2 separate regions of the Homo sapiens genome follow, and region 2 is linked to region 1. The links are contacts of gene promoters, found by promoter capture Hi-C in blood cells and fetal thymus (Javierre and others, 2016). All regions are on one chromosome and are shown on one strand. The core of a region is centred on a gene start or on the middle of the fragment in contact, and the rest is flanking DNA. Distances in the headings are between cores, read along the strand shown.

Evidence for each region. Contacts are between HindIII fragments. The CHiCAGO score rates a contact against its expected background, and 5 or more counts as called.
Region 2: a contact is called between the fragment with the promoter of CST3 here and the fragment with the promoter of GZF1 in region 1, in 7 of 17 cell types (M1 macrophages, M0 macrophages, M2 macrophages and 4 more). The highest score is 10.8, in M1 macrophages.

Annotation. Positions count from the first base shown.
Region 1 is chr20:23,360,664-23,367,359 of GRCh38, reverse strand. GZF1 (GDNF inducible zinc finger protein 1) reads right to left here and starts at 5,178. Exons shown (of 6, transcript NM_022482.5): 1 at 5,123-5,178; 2 at 1,613-2,997; 3 at 263-357. The coding sequence starts at 2,976. RefSeq lists enhancers at 3,579-3,638, 5,453-5,712 and silencers at 4,893-5,382, 5,803-5,892. The HindIII fragment of the contact is 6,657 bases long and covers 1-5,900 here.
Region 2 is chr20:23,635,490-23,642,448 of GRCh38, reverse strand. CST3 (cystatin C) reads left to right here and starts at 4,494. Exons shown (of 3, transcript NM_000099.4): 1 at 4,494-4,829. The coding sequence starts at 4,587. RefSeq lists silencers at 4,340-4,679, 4,710-4,959. The HindIII fragment of the contact is 8,524 bases long and covers 3,667-6,959 here.

The sequences.
Region 1 (6,696 bases), core at 3,929-6,428:
AAAAGAACTATTTTATATCTCTTGATACCTAAGACCTGCATGCCAGATCCTATGGCCTGGTGGTATAAAAGCCACAGCCATGTGCACACTAGCAACAAGGCAATGGGTGTATGTTTATTCATTTTGCTCACTTACTAGATGGAAAAGCTATATCATGGCTTTAACCTGCACCACCTTGGTAGATGCCAACTTCAAAATTAATCAATTGCATTTCCTTCTAGATCTAGGAAAGACATTCAATCACAACAGCATGAGTATTTACCTGTGTGACACCTTTTATGATAAATCAGCATGTGGTTCTGAGTGAATCTTGCACCACATTCATCACAGACAAAAGGTTTTTCCCCTGTATGAATTCTGAAAGTACAACATTCAGATGATAACTTAGGATGTATTTCAAAGCTCACTTTGCAATACAATTTCCACTCTATCCTGCAAAAATCGTTTACTCCAAGAGACCTAATGAGAATGACTGTAGTGACAGGTCAAGAGCCCATAATCTCCATCCCAAAATAAACTGAGTTTCTGCACAAGGTCAATGGATCCACACATTTTCCATAAATCACTGACTGGAATGTTCATCTACACCTGATCACAAGCCCTACTGCTGATGCTATAAGGCATGTGCAGGTAGAGACCAGGCCTTTGCAGATTTTTTTAAACACTAAAGACCACAATCTGATATTTGTAAAGCTGTCTCATACAGAATAATCAGCCACAAACACCTTAGGAACTACTGCTGATTAAGTGTCACATGATCAAAAATGTTACTCTCATTTCCTAATATGACATCACCAGTAGAGAAAGGAGAACTGTTCTCAAATTGCCGAAGGTGGCATTTTTAAAATGCATAAGCATTTTAATGTCACAACTAGTATGAAGTAGCAATCAAACATAATTTACTGAGCACTTCCTAAACCAAGTATTTTTAACTTATTATATAGAGTAAAAAATGAACACCATGCTGCTAACCCAAGACTGACCTAGGTTTGAGGGCAGATCTAGAAGAGAAGAGAAAACAACTGCTTGTTGGGATTTCAAGAATAAATATACTAAGAACTATAAGAAAACTTATTTAAAAACATCACCACACACCTGCAGCTCAGAAACATATTAAGAAACAGAAAGCACTGTCTGTCCTGATTCTGGAGTGCAGACTGCCTAGATGGCACTCCTTCCAAGCCTGAGAACCAAAAGACCAGAGACGAGTCCTAAAGCCTGAAATGGCATCTCACTGAGGTCTCTACTGAGACTGTGGGACCCGGATGGTCACAGAACCCCAAGATCTAAACGAAGAGTCAGGAAAGGAGAAATAAAGGTAACGAGGCCCAACTCTTCCTCCAGCACGGTGGGGCGAGCCCGCGGCCGCTGTCGCGGTCCCACCAGAGGGACGTCCCGGCCAGCAGGGGCGCCCCAGGGGTCTCAGAACAAGGGAGCAGAGCCATCACTCGCAGCCCCTGTACCTTGACAGAGAACTAAACGCTGTCTCGAAATAAGCCCCCAGGTTTGGAGCGGAGAAATTAAGCAGTGAGACATCAAATCCCAGGACGACCTCAGTGCTTGACACACCCTTCCAGTGCGCAGGGACCCCTCCGGACGGCTCCCCGCGTACCTCATGTGCGTCTTGAGCGCGGACGGCTGCGAGAACCTGGCGCCGCACTCGGTGCAGCCGTAGGGCCGGTCTCCCGTGTGTGTGCGCTCGTGCAGCCGCAGCGCTGTCTTGGAACTCAGGCCCTTGCCGCACTGGCCGCAGCGGTGCCGCTCGCCGCCGCCCTCATGCACCTGCAGCACGTGCCGCTTCACGTCCTTCTTGCGCTTGAACTTCTTCCCGCACAGCTCGCATGGGAAATGGCGCTCGCTGCTGTGCACGTGGCGCTGGTGGCTCTTCAGGTTGCAGCGGTTGGCGAAGGTCTGGCCGCAGGTGTCGCAGCGGTACACCACCTCGGTGGCCACGCCGTGGCGGTGCTTGCTGTGCTTCAGGAAGCTCTTCTCATACAGAAACGCCTTCTCGCAAATGCTGCACTTAAAGTTGCTCTTCTTCTTCTCCCCTTCTTCGTCCTCCTCCTCCTCCTCCTCTTCCTCCTCCGGCCCTGCTTTCTTTGACAATTCCTCCAACTCAGCACCTGCCTGGCAACCCTCATTTTTGGAAACCTGCTCCATCTCCGTGCCCACCCTGTCCGGGCTTTGGTCCTGGGGACACCTGTAGTCCCCCACATCACCCTCAGCAGTTTTCTGCTGCTCTCGGAGTCTTCTCGTATATTTCTTTTTAGGGATCTCCACAAAGACCTTCCTCCCAGCCAGCCTTCCACTAGCTCTCCTGATTTTAGGGTAGGGAGGTTTAACTACCTCTTTCTTCTTGTCTAGTTTGTCCTTGGACTTCTTCGGTGGCAAATCTGAAGACATGCCATTGCTGGCTCTCTCTCCTGGGTAGTCCAAGGAATCCGTGAGACCACTGGGGTGAGGGCCATCGGTGGCCACACTTGCCCTGGGGGCAGGAGCAGCACTAACTTGGGAGCCACTGCTCACCTCCACCTCCTGAGACTCTGAGAAATTTTGCAACTCCAAAAGTACTGACTCTAACATCTGTTTCTTTAATTGAAAACAAGTTTCTGATAAATCCAAACATTTCAGCTTTTCAGCCACTTCCAGCATTCGCTGCACCCGATCTTCTTCCACCTGTACCTTTGCAGTGTAGACAAACTCAAGAAATGAAGCAAAGTCAGCAACCTGCACTTCATTTAAGTAGACATTAGTCCTAGTACCATCCACACTCTTCTCATTAAGGAACACTTCCTTAAAAAACTTGCTGGTGGCAGCCAGCACTGCCTTGTGGGCCATGAAGTCTTTGCGGACACCCTGATACTCCACGCTGACTGTCACGTCACACAGGTGACCCAGGAGGCGAAGCTCATGCATCTCATGCAGTAGGTTAAATGGGGAGGATTTGGATTCCAGCAGAACTGCACCGCTTTCCATCTTTCTTCCTTCCAAAAACAGCTTTGAAAAAGAAACAAGAATTATGCATGAGCAACCACTGATGCAAAAGGACTAAAATTTATGAGGATTCCTTCAGTACTTGAGAGGATATAGACTCATTAACAACCTAGCTTTACTCAGGTAAAGATTCGAATGACATTTTACTTCTTAGCAGTTTTCTAAAGTGAGGTTCCTCATGCATTTTCCTAAGGTAATAAATTGGCATGAAAAATAGTGTATTCTAAGGTTTCCTCCAGTGATAAACAAATGATGGAAGTTGTGATTAGTGAAATACATTAACACAGTAATTTGCTCACCAAGGTCACTGTCTAATTTGCTTACATAGTCCCCAAAACTGTAAAAGAATTCATGGCAACAATAATGTCTAGTTCTCTGATCAGGAAACCAGATAATTAAAACACATAGCCACCACCATCTGGGAGCAAATCCAAAACCTCAGGGAATCATTTCTGCCTTTGAAAAGAACCAACTAAATAACTACTTTCCATGAGGAAAACTTCTTGGAAAAGTAGTTCACAATTCATCGCCCATTCCCAACATCCTAAACTCCTCAGAATTTGAATTATTGTTACTCTACTGAAATAATGTTAAGTTCCACAGCTTTTACAAGCTGTGCTACTTTGAGCAAGCAACTTCTCTGAACCCATTTCCTCCTCTGAAGAAGGCTGACCGGCTGTTACCAGGGTTCCATGAGCCTGAAACTTGTTGGCTAGTTTATTGGTTTCCCACACATAGGCCAAGGTGCTACAGTGATCCCCATTTCATAGATGAGGACCTATCAAGGTAACAGTCAATGGCTGGTTGGGACATGAGCCAGGGCCTGGTGCCCGGATTCAACTCAGACTACTCAACACACTCTTCCCCTCAGCCTTGCCAAAGGCAAAGGGCTATCTTTAGCCCCTAAATCTTTCCACTGCAGCGGGCATGCAAATTTCACCAACCCCACCTAAGGCCTCCAGATACCGTCACCCCATCGTCATTTCTGCTGCTTTGCCACAAACTCCCTGAATGTGTTTTCTCCCTGCCCTTCAGCTCCTGAATCTACCTTCCTCTTTGATTCCTGTTTCCATCCATCCAAAGCACATGCCTTCCTTCTAGCCTCCTTCGGCCAGACCACAGATGTCACCTCGGATTCAACGTGTCTAGAAAAAAAGTTGTCATCATCTTCCCTGATAAACTAGTCCCACCCCTCTCCCCTTCTCCAGTCTCATCAATGAGACCGCTCCCCACAACTAGCAGTCCCTCAAACATGGAAAAGACTGCCCTCTGGGAGTTCCGCTGTAAACAGGTACCTATGAGGCTTGATCAATGTCGCCTGAAGGAGACGCCCCAGTAAAACTGTGAGAACACTGACAAAGCCTAAGGAAGGGATCTATAAGAGTGGGGCTCTTATAGAGCCACTGGGGTTTCAGTGGTCCCAGCCCCAGCCTGGGGAAACAAGACTGCAGAGGGCTCTCTCAGCCTGATGCCCTGACTTCCCCAGACCTCTGCCAACAGGGCCCTCGAGGAGACCTGATTTCTCAATCAACAAAGTGGGTTCTGAGCGCGATTTCCTATGTTGCTTGGCTACTGGAGTGCAGGCACTGGAGGTGGCGACAGGGCAGTCTGCGGCCGGTGACAGCTGCGTATCCGCCGAATCTCATTGGCATTCCGGCCGCCTCCCAGTGCGCCCGGCATCTGCACCAACGTCGGCGGCCCCTGAATCCCCGAGGCTCACGGGGCCAGAGCCCTTCCAGGAGACGCTGCTACCCGCAGCCCAGTCCACGGCCACAAGGGCCGGGGTTTCCAGTGGGGCTTAAATCCGCCGCTGTCCTCGCCGCCCTCACGGCACCTCCCACCCTTCCCGCGCCACTTGGCCGCCCCAGCGCCCGGACGCCGCTCGGCCACTCCAAAGACGACCCAGAGAACAAACTACTGCAGCCACAGAGAAGCCCCTCCTCGGCCCGACGCGCCGCCTCCCGACGCGGGCATCCGGGGCCGCGTGGATCAGGCCCTCGGGCCGCCCCCTGCCCCCGCTCCCGCATCCCCGAGACGCGCAGGTCCACAGAGCAGCCGGGGCGCGCGGACAAAGAGGCGGCGGCGGGCGGCGAGGGGCCGGAGCCAGGCCTACGGGCCGCGCACTCACCTCCCAGCCGGCGCCCCCGCTGCAGCCGCTGTCCGCTGGACCAGGCCGGTAGGAACGGCCGGCCCGGCTGGGCGTGGCGTAGCACCCTGCGCGGGCACCGCCGATTGGTCGCTGCAGGCCCCTCCCCTCCCGCGGCCGGCCCCGCCCCTGGCGGGGCTGAGGAAGGGGCTGAGCCACACGTCGGGCGGCGGAGCGGTTCGGGCAGTTACCTGATCTGGCCGCGCGACTGACTGGCGACGCCGGATTGCGTCACCCGCCGCATTGCGTCACCCGCCGCGAGCCAAGGCCTGCGCCTGCGCAGGAGACAGCGACGTCTGCGCTGCGGCACGCCACAGGGGGGCGGGGCCAGTCGCGAAAAGTCACGTGAGCGTCAGATTCGCGTGGTCACTTTCGCGTCCATTCCGGGCTTCTGGCCGCAAGGCGCCAGCGCTTCCGGGCCCCAGCAGCCTGCGGTCAGGGCCTGCAGCTGGCTTCCCACTAAGAGCTGCTCACGTCCCCGAGGCCGAGCGCACCCTTAGGGCACGGTGGCCACGCGAGGGACCTCGCGGAAAGCCGGGCTTGGAGCTGGTACTCACCTTGGCTACTAGGGGCGCAGATGCCTCCACGGGCGCTGGAGAACTGGCGCCAGGCGGGGCTCGGCGCGGCGCTCTCCTCTGGGGCGCTTCTTCCGCGGTGCCCCCGCCCTGCTGGGGGGCTCGGCGCGCCAGGAGCCGGGACCGCACCCTGCCGTCTTTACTGCAGGGCTTTATTTCCAGGAGTTCCCATTCGGGCGAAAGCTTTGTTCACTACAGAACTTCCCCAGAGACCCATCCACTCTTCGGGGAAAGCACAATTGATTCCCTAAGATTCGCTGACTCCTCGAAATCTTGCTGTTTCCACCAATTCTTGCTCAATACTAACTAAAGCCCGCTTTGAAACACCTTCCTTGAGTCAGACTTCCAGTTCTCAATAAACTGACCTTGCCTTTTGCTCCCAGCCATTGGTAAAGCTTTGCCAGGTCATGCTGTCCCTTACTGTGGCCAGCAGTTAACTCAGCCTTGTCTTACCGACACGTTGAGTTTGTAATGTTTGGGGACTGTCAGGACAAATACAAATTTAAAATAAGGTTTACTACTTCCTGTTGAAAATATGAGATTTCCCTCCCTTTTTCTTCGAACATTTACTTTTAGAAAATTGGTAATTAGTGTAAGTACTTTTTCCTCTCTTTGAAATATATAAATCCTTTTGAAGACTAGTTAGGCCTTTTTGTGCGCTTTATAACCTAGATATGTCTTTTTCTAGGACCTAGGAGCCATCTCTTTAAGTATCAAGGGAGTTAATGCCCCTGTCTCCCAGTTTTAATGGGGGAGTAGGAGCCTAACTTCAGTGGGCCCTTTGCTCCAACTTACAAAATTATCTCATATCATAAAGATACAAGTTTCTTTTTCCTCTAGATAAAGCCAATTGGCTAACACAGAGGATCATCCCAAATATCAGGTTAGATGAACTGTGTGTGATGAAAAATGCTGCCAAGTTCCCTTGAGAGCTAGTTATTGTTTATCTTGAAAATGTGTGTAATAGATTGCTTGGCTGCA
Region 2 (6,959 bases), core at 3,245-5,744, 280 kb before region 1:
GGTGGAGCCCTGGCAGCACCAGCCAGCAGCCTGTGTCCCTGGAGGCCTCTCTCTCTCTCCCTTCCACTCAGATGTGGTTCTTCAGTCACTGGCTCTGCTCTGGTGAATGCACTCCTTGAGAAAATAAATGTTAACCCTGTAATCCAAAATGATGAGCGCCGTTTACACATTTGCTCCTGAGCAGAAATGTCCCAAGGATTCTCATCCCCCCATGAAGTGCAAAATGGGCCGCAGACACCGGGCTCTGCCCTTTCTCGCCTCAGTCTGCAAGGCTGCCAGCAGGCTTCCCAGTGCGGATCAGTTTCCTAATGATGTGGCTTCATCTCTATTGGAGCCAAATGCATTACCAATGTTGGCCTACGGTCTAGAAGCATCTGCATTTCCTCCATCGTTGGGGAGAGAGAGGGGAGAAGGAGGGAGCCTGTGTGTAAGGGACAGGCTTGACCCCAGAGGACTCCGGGCACTCCATAAGGAAGGCTCCTGGGCTTTGCCTTTGAGAGGCTACCAAAACCCGTGGCTGCTCAGTCCAAGCTCCCTCTATAGACACCGAGTGATAATTGCTCAAAACCCAAAGTGCAGAATCTCAACTCTTGGCCAACTTGATTTAACCACTTGCACCTTTAGGTGCTGTTTATGTGTTTGGTCATTTATTTATTATAGCATTGTTTAGTGTTGTTATTATTGCTTATTTATTATAGAGAATTTCTGCCATTTACCTAATTTCTCACTCTACTAATTCAGATGATGAGATCAATAGTCAAAAAGGCAGCCTGGGAGACCACGGCTTTCTCTTTCATCACCTGGCAGAAGGGAAATATGCCCCCTCCTGGGCAGCTGGACTCCTCCAAGTACATGGGTGCTGGAGGCCCCAGGCTCAGTCCTAGGTCCATTGTTTCTCTCTGTGTCTCTGTAGCATGTCTTTGAAGCTGTAGGCTGCTCTGTTACTTTTAATCGTGTTTAAACATCATCACTGATGCCCAGGCACAACAGTTTACAAGGCAGTCTACCTCTCCAGACACATGACCACAGAGAAGGCAAAACATTTGCTCAAGGTCACCAAATATCAGGAGCAGCTGCCCAGCTACTGTAACCTTTCACTTCCTATTACAGCATACTGAACACGGCTCCTGCAGCTCCTGAGAGCACCCTACACTGGTGTCTGTCCTACAAGGGTTAGAGAGGTCGCTGCATCAGGCCAGCTGACCCTCCCTGCAGCATGTGCCTGCAGGGCACGTCCTGACAGAGGATGACCACCGGCGGTGGAATCACATACAGGGAAATAGGCCAGCACTTCAGCTCCCACCTCACACCCCACCTACCACCATGCTCCTGCTATTTGGGTGACCTGCACGTCCTTCCTAATGACAAAAGACAGGGGATTTGTGTGTATTTCAGCTTACCCTCTGCACAACACATCCTCTTGAGACTAGAGCCCCAGTGGCCAGGGAAGGTGGGAGCCACAGAGAAGAACCAACTCCCACACTTGGGAGATGACCATTCTGCTCACAAGCACCTGGCCAGGGGCTGCCCTCTCTTTCCCTTCTCTGAAAATCTCTCCCCATTTCCTGTCTAACTAGGAGGCATATGCGCAACCCTGTTTGAAGACCTTCCTTCCCTCACCCAGCAGTAAACACCATCTGGGCCACCTGCTGTATCTGCTGGGGTGCATGGCTTTTCTAGGGACGCTGGATTGACAGTGGGGTGAGATGGTCACTGGGCCTCGGGTAACAAGGTCCCCTGTCCCACCACTGAACATGAGCATCCATGAGTAATATTGTTCCCGCTGCCGGGTTCCTGCTGATCCAGCCCCAGCCATGGCGGAGCCCCAGGATCACAGCAGGTCTGGGCTGACCCTGGCTGACCCTCACCTCCACCACTCCCAGGAGAGTCCTCTGGGTGCCCTGCAAAGGCCCAGAGTTTTCTGGTGTTTCTGGCAAAGCTGCCACCTCGCCATAAGGGCATTTGCCACAGGGTCACCTTCAGGCATGGAGGGTGGGGTTGAGAGAACAAAGGGAGCAGCTGTCTGTTCAGAGCCTCCTTTCCACCCTCGCCACTCCTGGAGTCACATTCCAGCCCAGGTCCGCAGCATCCCAAGCTGGGGACTTTGTCACCCCACAGGGCACCCAGCTGATCAGGTCCTCTCAGTCTGGGGAGAAGAACTCACAATCCTGGCAATGAAGGAACTCAGGGCCCACTGGAAAGCCACACTGAGCAAAGGACAAAGACACACCCAGGCTTGCTCTGCAGGACTCCATTTCTGGGAAGCTCAAGGACAGGCGACAAACGAGTCTATAGGGCAGGATGGGGGCTGCCAGGGCAGGATGGGCATGAGGGTGAGCTGCAGAGGCAGGAGGACACACCGTCTGGGGCAAGGCAGATGTCACAGGTCTGGACAAAGTGGTAACACGGGTATATGCGTTAATGAAATCCCCCAGATTAGACATTTTGTTGTCTATAAATTCTACCTCACTCACAGTGATGTTCTAAACTCAGGTGAGTTTTCCAAGCAGTGCAGAGGACCAGCGCCAGCAGCATGACGCCCAGAGGGGAGGAGCAAGAGACACCCGTGGGCTCCCACATTCATCCTGTGGCTGCTGCTCCCTCTCCTGACACCCCCACTGCCTGCCAATGGGTCTCACTGCACCTTCCACCCGGCCCCACCCACAGTTACCATGAGACTCCAGATCGTTCCCTTCCCTGCTCACACTCCCTCCAGGAGCTTCCTCTTCCTGGAGCAGGCATGCCCAGCCCCGCCTCAGGGCCTTTGCACTGGCCCTTCCCGCTGCCTGGGGCTGTTTCCTGTCTAGGCAGGGCTTCTCACCTTTCCAGTCTCATAGAGTCCTCCCTGACCAGGTCCAGTGGCATCATCTCTCTCTATCCCATACTCTCACTTCCAACAGAGAGACTAATTTCCTGATATTAATTATTGATCACTATTCGCCATCCTCCCACACACCCTAATGCTGGGCTGTGCAGTGCCACAGCCACCAGCCACATGTGGCCACAGGGTGCTTGAAATGGGGCCAGTACAATTGACACCCACATACACAGGGAATTTCAAAGACTCAGTACACACACCCAAAATAAAATAACCTATGTTATTAATGATTCTTCTTATGTGTTGAAATAATATTTTGGATATATTAGGTTAAGTAAGAAATATTATAAACATTACCTTCACCTGTTTCTTTTTTACTTTTTGAAATGTGTCTCCCAGAAAGTTTTAAATTGCTCCTGGGTTCGTGTCACATTTCTGTCTGGCAGCAGCCCTGCAATGTAGTGTCCATGGCTCGGTCACCCAGGCTCCGTCTCTAGCTCCTAGACTACCTGGTGCAGGGGGAAGCTGGTGAAAAGTCTGTTTACTGAATAATGAGTTGTGAAAGGAGAACCCAGAGTTTTTTACTCAAATAAAGGTTAATTCTTCTGTTTGAAAAGTTCCCTAGCACAGGGCATGGCCTGAGTCTCCTGTGGCCTCTGGAATCACACCTCTGCCTTAGTGATTTCTAGACCTTGACCAAATGCTCACGGATACTCAGGACCTCTGAAGACTCCGGAAGGCCGAGACCTCTATCTTTCCCTTTTCTGAGGAAATGAAGCTAGGGGGTCGTATGCTTTTAGGGCCCAGGGGGCCTTGACACCTCTCTGGAGGGCAGGGTGACCTAAGCTTGGGAGGAGGGACAGGTCTTTGGGAAGAGATGGAGCTGAGGGGGTGGAGTGGGTAGAAGGGGGGCATAGGTGTGGAAGGGGTGGGGGAAGAGGGGCCAGGAGTGGGGTGAGAAGAGGGGAAAGAAGAGGATAGGAGGGACAGGGACAGGGAGAGGCCAGGAATGGGTAGGAAGGGAAGACAGAGGAGGGGCGGGACGAGGGAGGGGCGATGAAGAGGGGCCGAGCTGGGGTGGGGGCGAAGTGGGAGCAAGGACAGGAGTGGAGGAGGGAGATGAGGGGCATGGGAGGCGGTGTCTGGGGGTTGAAAGGGGAAAGGGACAGAGGAGAAGGAGCCTGAAGAGTGGCGGCATGGAGGGGCCCGAAGTGGGGAGGTGGGAATGGTCGGATGGATGGGGAGGAATGGGGAGGATAGGAGAGGCAGGGGAGGCTGGAAGACAGTAGGAGAGGAGGGGGAGGGGAGGGGAGGGGATGGATGGGAATGGATAGGGAAGGCCAGGGAGACTGGGGGGCCAGGGGAGGAGGGGAGGGAGAGGGGAGGCGGGAAGGGAGAGGAGAGGCCGGGAGGGGCTGGGAGGGGAGGGAAGGGGATGGATGGGGAAGGACAGGGAAGCCTGGAGGGGCAGGGGAGGCTGGGATGGGAGGAGACTGATAGGGAGGGACCTGGAGGCGGGGAGAGGCAGGGGAGGCGGGGAGAGGCAGGGGAGGCGGGGAGGGAGAAGGGAGGTGGGAGGGACGAGGCGTTCCGGAAAAGGGAGTGCAGGCCGCGGTGGGGTGGGGCGGCGAAGGCCGGAAGGGATAAAACCGCAGTCGCCGGCCTCGCGGGGCTCACGGCCTCGCCTCGGTATCGCAGCGGGTCCTCTCTATCTAGCTCCAGCCTCTCGCCTGCGCCCCACTCCCCGCGTCCCGCGTCCTAGCCGACCATGGCCGGGCCCCTGCGCGCCCCGCTGCTCCTGCTGGCCATCCTGGCCGTGGCCCTGGCCGTGAGCCCCGCGGCCGGCTCCAGTCCCGGCAAGCCGCCGCGCCTAGTGGGAGGCCCCATGGACGCCAGCGTGGAGGAGGAGGGTGTGCGGCGTGCACTGGACTTTGCCGTCGGCGAGTACAACAAAGCCAGCAACGACATGTACCACAGCCGCGCGCTGCAGGTGGTGCGCGCCCGCAAGCAGGTGCGTGCCGCCCCCCGCAGGGTCCGAAGCCCCGGCCCCGCCGTCCCAGCCTCCCCCCGCGCTGCTCCCGGACCCCGTGCTGCTCCTCTCCGGCGCCTGGGCTTCTCACCCGGACCCTGTTCCCGGTCTTCGCTGTCACCCCCGAGCCCTTGGCGGGCGTGTCCGGGAATGCCCTGAGTCTGGCCTGGCCTGGAACCGCACGGACACGTCAGGTCCGCGCCCGGCGCCTAAGATCAGCTTCCAGGAGCCAGCTCGAGCTGCGCCGCAGCGCGGGGGCAGGCACAGGACGTCCCACACAGCTCTGTCCCGACCTCCTGGGACGCTGGGCTCCGGGTGCGCTGCTGAATACGCAGGAGAAGGAAAAACAGAGCCCCTCATCTGGCTGCCTCCTTGTTCTTCCACCAAATAATTTTTAAGCACTTTTGTTTCTTTTAACTTTTTATTCTCCCGTAATTTCAGACTTACAGAGCAGCTGCAAAATAGCACAGGGCATCCCTGTAGATCTTTCACCCAGATCCCTCAGATGTTAGCACAGATGTTAACATTTTGCCCTGTTTGTTCCCCCCAGCTCACTTTCCGAATGTGAATATGGGTGTGTGTATATGTACTGTATATGCATTTTTTGCCTGAATCTTTTGAAAGTAAACACTTCAGTGTGTTTTTCCTAAAAACAAGGGCAATATCGCACATAATCACTATTCCATTTTGAAAATCAGCACTGACACATTCATGATCTAATGCTCAGACTCATTCAGCTTTCCCTGTCTGTTGACGGCCTTCGTGCCCTAGGACGCTCCTGGGCCATGAGTGCATGAGTTCAGCCCTGTCCTGTCCCCTCGGCCTCTTTTAACCTGCAGCAGCAGCTGGGTCTGTGCCACGACCGTGCCATTTCCCAGGGTCTAGCAGGTGTGGATGGAGACTATGCTGACTCTGGGTGGGCTTGATGCTGCTCAAGATGAGATCTAGGCCATGCGGCTCATCCTCCTCCCAGAATACTCTCCGCAGGGGCCACACGTGAGCCTGGCACCTTGTCCTGCAGAGCCCTGCTTCCCTCCCCAAGTCACACCCCTGGGCACAGTCCCCTAGGACTAGCGGCCTTCACCCTCAGGCCGGCTGACCACCCCCTACATCCCAGGGCAGCTGAGTCCCTGCTGGGGTGGAGCATGCCTGACCCTGCCTCTATCAGCTGATGCAGAGTTAGACCTCAGCCAGATGAAGACACCCAGCAGACCGGAGTAGGGGGTCGGATCGGGAGGGAGCTTCAGTAGGGCTACCAGGCCCAGCTTGACCTGCATCCCATGGCAGAGCAGCGAACAGTGACACAGACTTTAGAGCTCCTCCACCTTCTCTTGGAAATTCAGAGGAGTCCAGACCAGCCGCGTTTCTCCCGCAGCCGTCAGCTGGGGCCCTCTCCCTGCACAGGAGGGCCATTCCCTGGTGTAGGGTCCCCGCTGGCCTGCACCTCTCTCTCACTGGGAGTGAAGCATGGGGCATTGTAGATCGTTGGGCCCTGGAGCCTATTTTACAGAGGAGCAGACTGACACCAGAGGGATCACAGGCCTTGCTTGTGCTTCTACAGGACTTGTGTGTGGTTCCACAGGGCAAGGTCTAGCACCCTGGTCCCAGGGTCCCTCATCCCATGCTTCTCCACAGTTCTGACAAGTCATGTTTTGGGGCGGCACTGTGCAGGGAAAGCATTCAGTTCTCTTCTGAAGTTGCAACCCTAAGACATGCAGGTGTGTGACTCACTTTAGAAATATTGCCTTGAAAATCACACCTGGAATGGAAGCACGTGGGAAGCAATGTTTATTGGCCTAAAACATCAATGTATGTGAGCATCTCATCTCCTAGTGAGAAATGAGGAAAAATACCTCTGGGTTAAATGGCAGGAATGAGATGCTCTGTGGACTGAATGCCAGGAACTGGAAGTTTGCCGAAATTTCATCATCACATGAGAACCTTCCTAGAATAGATCCAGTGTCCCTGCCCCCTGGGTCATAGGTAGCGGAATTCAGTTAATCCTTGGCATTGGCATAGAGAAACAAGTTACCGGGGAGGCCTGGGGCATGGCATCCCTGCCAGCTGGCAGGAGGAGGTGGCTTGTGTGCCTTGCAGGTGACAATGTGGGCA